Regions from separate parts of the Homo sapiens genome. Here all the other regions are linked to region 1. Evidence: promoter capture Hi-C in 16 types of primary human blood cells and fetal thymus (Javierre and others, 2016). All regions are on one chromosome and are shown on one strand. The core of a region is centred on a gene start or on the middle of the fragment in contact, and the rest is flanking DNA. Distances in the headings are between cores, read along the strand shown.

Evidence for each region. Contacts are between HindIII fragments. The CHiCAGO score rates a contact against its expected background, and 5 or more counts as called.
Region 2: a fragment that was not itself captured here is called in contact with the fragment with the promoter of PLSCR1 in region 1 in 1 of 17 cell types (endothelial precursors); the score reaches 5.6 in endothelial precursors.
Region 3: a fragment that was not itself captured here is called in contact with the fragment with the promoter of PLSCR1 in region 1 in 2 of 17 cell types (total B cells and total CD8 T cells); the score reaches 5.1 in total B cells.

What each region holds. Positions count from the first base shown.
Region 1 is chr3:146,543,021-146,545,978 of GRCh38, forward strand. It overlaps PLSCR1 (phospholipid scramblase 1), which reads right to left and starts at 1,587. Exons shown (of 9, transcript NM_021105.3): 1 at 1,447-1,587. RefSeq lists an enhancer at 1,437-1,916. The HindIII fragment of the contact is 8,607 bases long and covers 1-2,958 here.
Region 2 is chr3:146,329,891-146,332,848 of GRCh38, forward strand. No RefSeq gene overlaps it. Among named protein-coding and RNA genes, the nearest start is that of PLSCR4, 80 kb to the left of the region's middle. The HindIII fragment of the contact is 2,829 bases long and covers 1-2,793 here.
Region 3 is chr3:146,376,202-146,379,159 of GRCh38, forward strand. No RefSeq gene overlaps it. Among named protein-coding and RNA genes, the nearest start is that of PLSCR2, 92 kb to the right of the region's middle. The HindIII fragment of the contact is 3,693 bases long and covers 1-2,958 here.

The DNA of each region.
Region 1 (2,958 bases), core at 337-2,836:
GTCAGACTAGGAGATGAAGGAAGTCTCAAATCAACTAGTCTATGGAGGTATGGTGGGTGGGGTGTTGGAGGGCATCATAGATAGAGGGAACTCCATAGGTAGAATTCCTGAGCTGGAGGAACGTCCCTCATTCAAGTAAAGGAAGACGAGTGAGGTTACAGAGCAAAAGAGGGAGACATTCTTAGAGATGAAGATGGAGAAGTACATAAGGGTCTGCTCACACACATCTGATGTCTCTCCACCTGTATGTACTCTAAGCTCCTTTACAGATCTAAAGGCAGTTTGATCTATAAACCAGCTATTTTACATGCCACTTTTCTATCCAATTGCATAAATCCACTCTTTCCCTTTATATGTCTTTTTCATTTCCCCGCATTTTCTCATTGTTCAAAGCCCTACTATTGTTGTAAACAGGGTGGCATTAAGACAAAGGTTTGCTCTTAGAAAAAGTTCAAGAAGGGAGCCCCCAAACTGTCTGACACGTTTAAGTGTCACTTGTAGTAACCATGTATCTCAATGTGATAAGCCAGAAAAAACAACGACTGCCTGTTCCTGGAACTGGGAAGTGGCCATGCCAAGACTTCCAGGAATAACAGTGCATGAATGAAACCACCTGGGAACCAGAGAATCAGCTTGGAGAAGCAGGAACTTTGTCAAATATTTAAAATAATAAGAGCTAACTTTCACTGAGTACTTTCTGTAGCGCCAGGCACTGCTCTAAGAATTTTACATTAATACTCTGTAGCTCATTTAATAGTTACACAATTTCAGAGATGAGGCAATGGAAAGAACATATATAAGAAGAAAGTGGCTGACAGTCCACAGACGTGAAGCAGTAGAGGCCGAATTTAAAGTCGGGGAGCCTGACTGGAGCTAATGGTCTTAGGAACCGTGCTAGATACCGCCACTATCTTTCCTAAGCTGGTATTGTAGAGGGCCTAGCATAGATGTGGGCTCCGGCGGACTTCATTGAATACTTACTGATAAATGACAGCTTGCAGGCTGTATTAACCATTCCTTCTAATAGCCCCACTACGCTGGCACATGCTCCTGAGCCCAGACTCTACCCAGGATTCAGGGCCGCTCTCTACCTGTAAAGCAGTGTAGCTAAGGGGAAGCTGAGCCCCGCAAGGCGTTTTCAGGCAGGGCACCCCTTGTCATTCGAATGGTTCTGGGGTGAGCCCGGGTGCCGCTGGGCCGCCTGGGGCCCCTTGCCGTGTACCTGCTCCACTTCCAGGGTCCCTTTCAGAGGCCTCTTGCATTTCTGGCCCCAACCTTCACCCCACATCCTCCACCCCCAGAGCAGCAAACACAACCTGCGGGCCCTCGCGCCGGTTCCCCACAAGTTGCCCTCCACACCTGACCCCGGCCCTGGCCCCAGCGCAGGCTCCGCGCAGTTCCCGCGCCCAAGTCCCCAGGAGGCGGCAGAGAAAGCCGCCCGCGCACCTCTGGCTGCCGCTGTTTCCGCTCCCGAGCGAGACAAGGTCCAGAGAGCCGGGGCCAGGCGATGGCTTCCTCTTCTGCGCCTCTAGACTGCCGGGCACAGCTGCTGCGCAACCTTCTCAGAAGTCAGCCGGAAAAGGGTCTGGGAGTAACCTTTGCGCCAACACCCGCGGCTCCTGGTTTCGTTTCCTGAATCTTACGTACACAACACGGTTTCCTTTTCCCGGTTCCCGCGCTGGCGCTCGGGGACCCACGAGACTACTGGAGGGTGAAGGAGCTGGAGGAGGGACTGCGCCCACCCCCTGGTGTGAGGCCCCTCCCCTACCCCCGACTTGCTTTCTTGCTCATTGGAGAGACTCCAGAGACGTTTGTCCGGTGGTTAAGGAGAGGAACTGGGACTCCGACACTAACTGGAACTGGAAAGTCATCAGCTGGGGAGTGGCCTCCCCCGGGAACTTTCTTTACTCTGGCTTTGACCTCCATCCCTCGGAAGCCCGTGGCTTTTCAAGGCGAGGGAGTAGAGGCAGCTTAAGACTACAAATGAGGAGGGGCCAAAATTGTTTTTCTTTATGGTGCCTTTTCTTTCTTGCTGTCTTGCTCTTTCTTTCCTTCTATTAAATTATGTGATATTACTTTTTAATTTTTAAGCAGTTATTTGAATGTTTTCGAGCTCACTTTATTTTTTTATAAATATTGTTCCTTTTTAAACTAAAATAGTTTTTATTCTGTGTATTTAAGTTATTTGTATGACATATCCATCAACTCCTATAATTACACATTTCCCCCCTTGGGGCAAGAGCAGCTATAATCTACTTATTTAGCATAAATCCTGAATACCACTATCATTAACTATAGCCCTCATGTTGTACATTAGGTCTTCCCATTTGTTCATCCTACGTGTTTGTAACTTTGTATACTTTTACCTAAATTTCCCCATTTCTCCTGACCCCACTCCAACCTGGATGACCCTGGATAAACCAGTGGTCCCCAACCTTTTTGGCACCAGGGACCAGTTTCACGGAAGAGGATTTTTCCATGGACCAGGGCCGGGTGGCAGACGGTTTCAGGATGATTCAAGCACATTACGTGTATTGCGCACTTTACTTCTATTATTATTACATTGTAATATATAATAAAATAATTATACAACTCACCATAATGTGGAATCAGTGGGAGCCCTGACCTTGTTTTCCTGCAATTAGAAGGTCCCATCTGGGAACGGTGGGAGACAGTGACACCAGAAGTGTGTTGCTTATGTCCAGTCTACTCCGTAATCTTGTTTTGGTTGCTGTCACTGCAGAAAATCCTGCTTCACAAAGATAGCATGTTGGAAATGGAAGCAGACTCTTCAGTGCTTTTGTGGCAATCTCAGGATATCCCACCTTGAGTTTAATCCAGAACATGGGATTTGAAGCTGTCTCAAACATACTTTTAAGGCCACCATCATTTGTGATCTCAAGCAATTGATCCTCTTCTAGTACGGACAAAATCGATTCACCTGACTTACTCACAAAT
Region 2 (2,958 bases), core at 129-2,628, 210 kb before region 1:
GGTTTTCTCGTGTATCCAGCGGGAATAAGGAAAGAATCAAGGAAAGGTATGTGCCAATTATCTGTTAAAGTACCCACTAGACAATTAACATCTAATGGGACAGAACTTTACCATATCTCCAAACCTAGTTACATAGAAGGGTCAGAAATATTCTGTGTATTCCAGGTTTCATGTGGAATCAGTGAAATTAGAGATATTATGGGAGAAGAAGAGACTTAAGGGAACAAGCAATACCTCTACCAAAATTACTCTCCATTGCTGATATTTCCATGTAGAGATACTGGCATTAGAGAAGACTTCTGATCTTTATCTGTTCCCTCATTTACTTGCCTCAGGGATCAGGGATAAATGATTGTTCTTGGGGAGTTTGAGCAAAGCAACTGGGTATGAGAAGTTCAGCTGTGTTTCTCTTTGGAGAGACAGCCTGTTAACAGACAGCGCGAATTCCTAGGTTTTTCAGGGAGTGAGGTTTATGGTGGTAGGACTCTAGAATAAAGGGCTGTGTTTTTTTCCAGCTCTGCCTGAGACAGTGAGAGTAATTCTGATTCAGCACCCTTTTGCAAATTTATTATTGCTAGAGAATGAAGCCTTGTCCTCTAAACAGCTTTATCAGGTTAATGATGAAGTCAGTTTTACTCCTTTGCCTATCTCTCAAGTGATTTCATTCACAGGCAAAGAACAGTGATAGTATACAATGATCTCTCAAAAGGCCAACAATATTAGCTTGCTGTCAGTTAAGAAAACAGCACCACATTTCTCTGATTTCCATATCTAGGAAGGTCCTATGGCCATATCTCAAACAAGTGGCAAAAATTACAGGTAGACAGGAATACACAAAACCGGACAGAACAGAGAGAGCTATACAGACACAGAAAACAAACAGAAATATTGAAATGTTATAATATATAGGAAACTAAGAATAAACAATTCAAGGATATAGGAAATATAGTAGTAGTCCCCAGAATAATTTTTATAACTGACTGTGAATCTGCCAGAACTATGAATAAAGTATTCCCACATCTCCAGACATATTGTCTATTCCATGTTATCTGTCAGACTAACAGGCAGGCTAGGTCACATCTGGACAAAGTAGTATTTGGCTGCCCATTAGCTATAGTTCTTTCCCTTCATCAAGGTAATTGTTTGAGTCTGTCTATGATCATCTGATATTCTTTGTATGACCAACAATTAAATTTTTCAATGCAAGTGAATCTGTCAAACAACAAGTATCTTTCACAAAAGAATCTAAAAATATATCTTAATAAATGAAATTAAACTCAGATGTGAATGGTGGCTGTGAAAAATATGACTGTATCAATAAATGAATGGATGAGTAAATTGAAATACCTCATAGATGACAGGTATTTTAAATGCTTTTGTTTTTGTAACATAGTAATTTAGTTTTTCCTTCATAGGTAGAAGATTGCCGTGAGATCAGTCGGTATTGTTGAGATGTGCTATGTTAGCATTTGCTTACGATTAATTTACAACAGTAGATAAATTTGAAACAAATATCTAAAAATTTTCTATTAACCATTGTTATAAAAGATTGCACATTAAGGCTGGGCTCAGTGGCTCACGCCTGTAATACTAACAATTTGGGACGCCAAGGCAGGCGGATTGCCTGAGCTCAGGAGTTTGAAACCAGCCTTGGCAACAAGGTGAAATCCCGTCTCTACTAAAGTACAAAAAATTAGCTGGCTGTGGCAGCATGCACCTGTAGTCCCAGCTACTCGGGAGGCTGAGGCAGGAGAATTGCTTGAACCTGGGAGGCGGAAGTTGCAGTGAGCCAAGATCGTGCCCCCGCACACAAGCCTGGGCAACAGAGCGAGATCCATCTCAAAAAAAAAAAAAAAAAAAAAGTCTGTTAAATTTTTTGTGTGATTGCAAGAATACTGGGGGATAAAAGGAATCTGTAATTTGCAGTCCTGTTTCAACTATTTGTGCTCAGTATAACGTTGGACACATGACCTTGGCCTGTTTTCTCATTTGTAGATTAGAATGTAATGCAGGTAGTCCTCAATATTCCTTCTAACTCTAAAATATTTTGGTACTATTCATTAAAATTTATAGATTAGTAGTAGCATAATTTGGCTAAGGAAATAGTATATTTCAGTAGAGAAAGCAATGAACTACTGCTGTCCCATTTTGTAGACTTATATTATTTAGTTTTATGTCAGGGAGGGGGGAAAAAGAATAATTCACCAAATTAAATGAATAATATTTATTATTAAATAAATAAATAATAAATTATGTAATTATGATTATAAATATAAGTAATAAATACATAAATTAATAAATAAATATAATTATTAAATACAATTTAATTATTAATTAAATATTTAATTCCAGTAGCAACAATTTCACAAATCTAAATAAATAATATTTTGTCTTTCTAATTGATTCTTTCTGGTGTTTCTCATCTGCCCATCCTTGCATAAGCAAGAGTTTCTAACATATCTTTTAAATCTGTTTTTCCTAGATTTTAACAAAAACAGAACAAATAATAGTTACTGTTAGCTAAGACAACTGAGAAAACATGTTTTTGAAACTTTCAAGAAAATCAGTTTCAGTAATTTCTCCAAGATAAATTTTTCTGTGCCTGGATTGCAAAACAGTTGCTAGTATAATAATTTAATGATTGGTTACCTGTATTAGTATTAGTCAGGTTTCCCTAGAGGAACAGAACTAACAGGATATATAAATATATATACACATATTTATTTATTATAAAGGGGAGTTTATTAAGTATTAACTTACACAATCACAAGGTCCTACAATAGGTTGCCTGCAAGCTTGGGGAGCAAGGAGAGCCAGTCTGAGTCTCAAAACTGGAGAACTTGGAGTCTGACGTTCAAGGGCAGGAAGCATCCAGCATGGGAGAAAGATGTAGGCTGGGATAATGAAACAGTACTGGAAATAAACATTTTCAAAGGTTTTGAAATTCTATAGTATGAT
Region 3 (2,958 bases), core at 134-2,633, 170 kb before region 1:
CAAATACATGACAAGTGTTAAAAAGGTTTGCTAATCTATTTTATAGTCTTCTCTTGTTCAACCCACAATGTAATTTTTTCAATCATAATTATACAGTGGTGTGTTGTGAATTTGAAGAACAAAGATTCAAAATATTTTGCATTTTAGAAATTGTCTGTAGGTTATAGAAATAAAGAGTAAAAATAATAGAATATTTTAAGATGTTTGATTATTTCCAGTGAAGATGTAGAATTTGATTCTATTTTTAAATTTTTTTTTAGAATTACCATGTGTTACATGTGAGTTTATTGCTATCTGAATTGTTACAAAGAAAGAATCTCTGTCCATTTTCTGTTTATTAAATTTAGAATGTTAAATGTTTTTCTTAGTATCCCTATCCCATCAATTTTTTTTTCATTCATAATGTGTATTACTTTGGGTTCTCCAGAGAAACAAAACGAATAGCATAAGTAGATAGATAGCTATAGAAAGATAGCTATACAAATATATCTACCTTTAGTTTAGTCTATCTTTAGTTTATCTTTAGTCTCTCAGTTTCTAAGTTTTCCATATGCTTAGGAAATCCTCAGAATTAGGGCACATGGTGAGACTTATAGTTATTGTTTAACATTTTTCTGCAGCAAGGAAAAAGAAAGGAGAAATTTGGGGTTCTGAGAATAGACAAATAAAGGTGGGTACTCAAGGAGGTGTGGAATCCAGGTGGCAGCTGTTTCTTCTCCATTCAGATTATCTTGGTTACTTGAACATACAAATGACAAAACTGGCACTTTGCCACTGAAAGTTTAATTTATCTTGAATGTTAGCATAATTTTAGAATTTATTATACTACAAGAAAAGAAAAAGCATGCGACGTGTTTTGTTTTCTTTTCCTATGACCTTCAGGCGGTCAACTACTTTATTATGTAAACCTATGCTAAACTATCCAATTGCCTCCCACTGCCTGGTAATTTTTGTAAATTTAGAAATAATTATATATTTTCAGAAAAGTTGCAAGAATAGTACAAAAAATTTTCACACAATTGTCACCTATATTCCCCTATTTTTTCACATTTGCTTTATTACTCCCTTTAATATATACATATATACATATGAAATAATAATTTTAAATTGCAAACATGGTATTGCTGTACTCCTAAATACTTCAGTGTGCATTATCTCCATAAGGAACATTCCCTTAATATTACCACAATTAACATAACAGGACATTAACATTGATACAATATTTTACACAATCAATTGCTCCTTTCTGATTCCTTGGTTTATAATTTCCTTTTAAACATTAGGACACACATACTATGAGGCAATTTTTTTTGTTGTTTTCGCTTTAATAAGCACCAAATGTTATTTTGATTAGATTAAAATAGATCTATGTCATGGTTTTTATTCTTACATAATACTACACTATGAATTCACCAAAATTGGCCAATATGATCTTCAAAATTTTGTGGAGAAAATGTCCAAGAATATGCAAGCAAAATAGTAGAATATAATTAAAATTATAGTTTTTCTGCAACAGAGTCATATGAGATAGCCCATCTTCATTGGTAAACATTTTTATGAGTGCCATTAATCTCTACCTCTCTTGTAAATCCACTCATTACACTGTATTGTTACTACACATTTATGCATCTTCAAATCCCACTAGACTGTTAGACTGCAAAATTAGTACAGGCAGAAACTGTGCCTCCTTCGTTAACTAATGCATTGTGGATACTGAATCAACTGGTTGAATGAATAAGTGAATAGTAAGTATGACATAGAAGCGAATCTAGCTGCTACCTTGTTATGAAATCAAAGGCCATCAGGAGTAATCCTCCTTACTCTCCTGTTTGACCTACCCAAACTGTTATCAACATGTATGTCTATACTAACTTTTCTTCTAATTGCAGAAGAGTAGGTGTGCCCTCCTCATGTCTCCTGCTTCTTATTCCATCCTTAGGTTCCAGGCTCTTGCTCTGTTGGTCATACATAGTATTCCTCTCCTATGTCTTCAACTATTTTTTCTTTTTTTTTTTTGTTTTTTTCTTGCCCATATCAAAAATGTAGACTTTGCTCTCCCATCAAATAAAGCCATCTCTTTTTTCTACTCCCTGTAGCCACCATCTAGTCTCTTACTTCCCCTTTTCCTGCTGAGCTTCCTAAAAGCATAGCTTGTTATATATTTCTGTTATCTCCCATTTATTTCTCAACTACCCTTGATCTAGATTCATTTCTTAATACTTCTAAAGGTAGTTCTGGCTTAAACAATGGCATGTGTATTTTCATATTTTGTGGACACGATTCCATCTTGATTGACCCTCTGCTCCCTGACATCATTCTCTCTGGTTTCTATACTTTGGAATTTAGTTGGATTTAATGTTTCTTGAATGGACAAATCCATTTCCTGCATATATTTTACTAGAATTGAGTAGTCACCTAGAGAATGCCATGTAGATGACAGCAGAACAGGCCAAGACATATTGCTTGTTCCATTTTTCTTCATTTCATCTTGATATGGTTTGGCTTTGGCTCTGTGTTCCCACCCAAATCTCATCCCGAATCCCCATGTGTTGAAGGAGGGACCTGGTGGGAGGTGACTGGATCACAGGAGCTTTTTCCTTAACACTGTTCTCATGACAGTGAGTGAGTTCTCACGAGATCTGATGGTTAAAAGTGTGGCACTTCCCCTAATTCTCTCTCTCTCTCCTGCTGCTATGTAATATGTGCCTTGCTTCCCCTTTGCCTTCTGCCATGATTGTTTCACCCTCATGGGGGGCCTCCCCTGCCATGAGGAGCTGTGAGTTAAACTTCTTTTTTTTTTAATAAATTACTCAGTCTCAGGTAGTTCTTTACAGCAGTGTGAAAATGGACTAATACACACCTCATTTTACTTTTATTAAGATAAAGAACATTTTAAAATGCATTCTGAAAACTCATTAACAGCACACTGAGTGAATCATTGTTAAATTAAATGTTTCT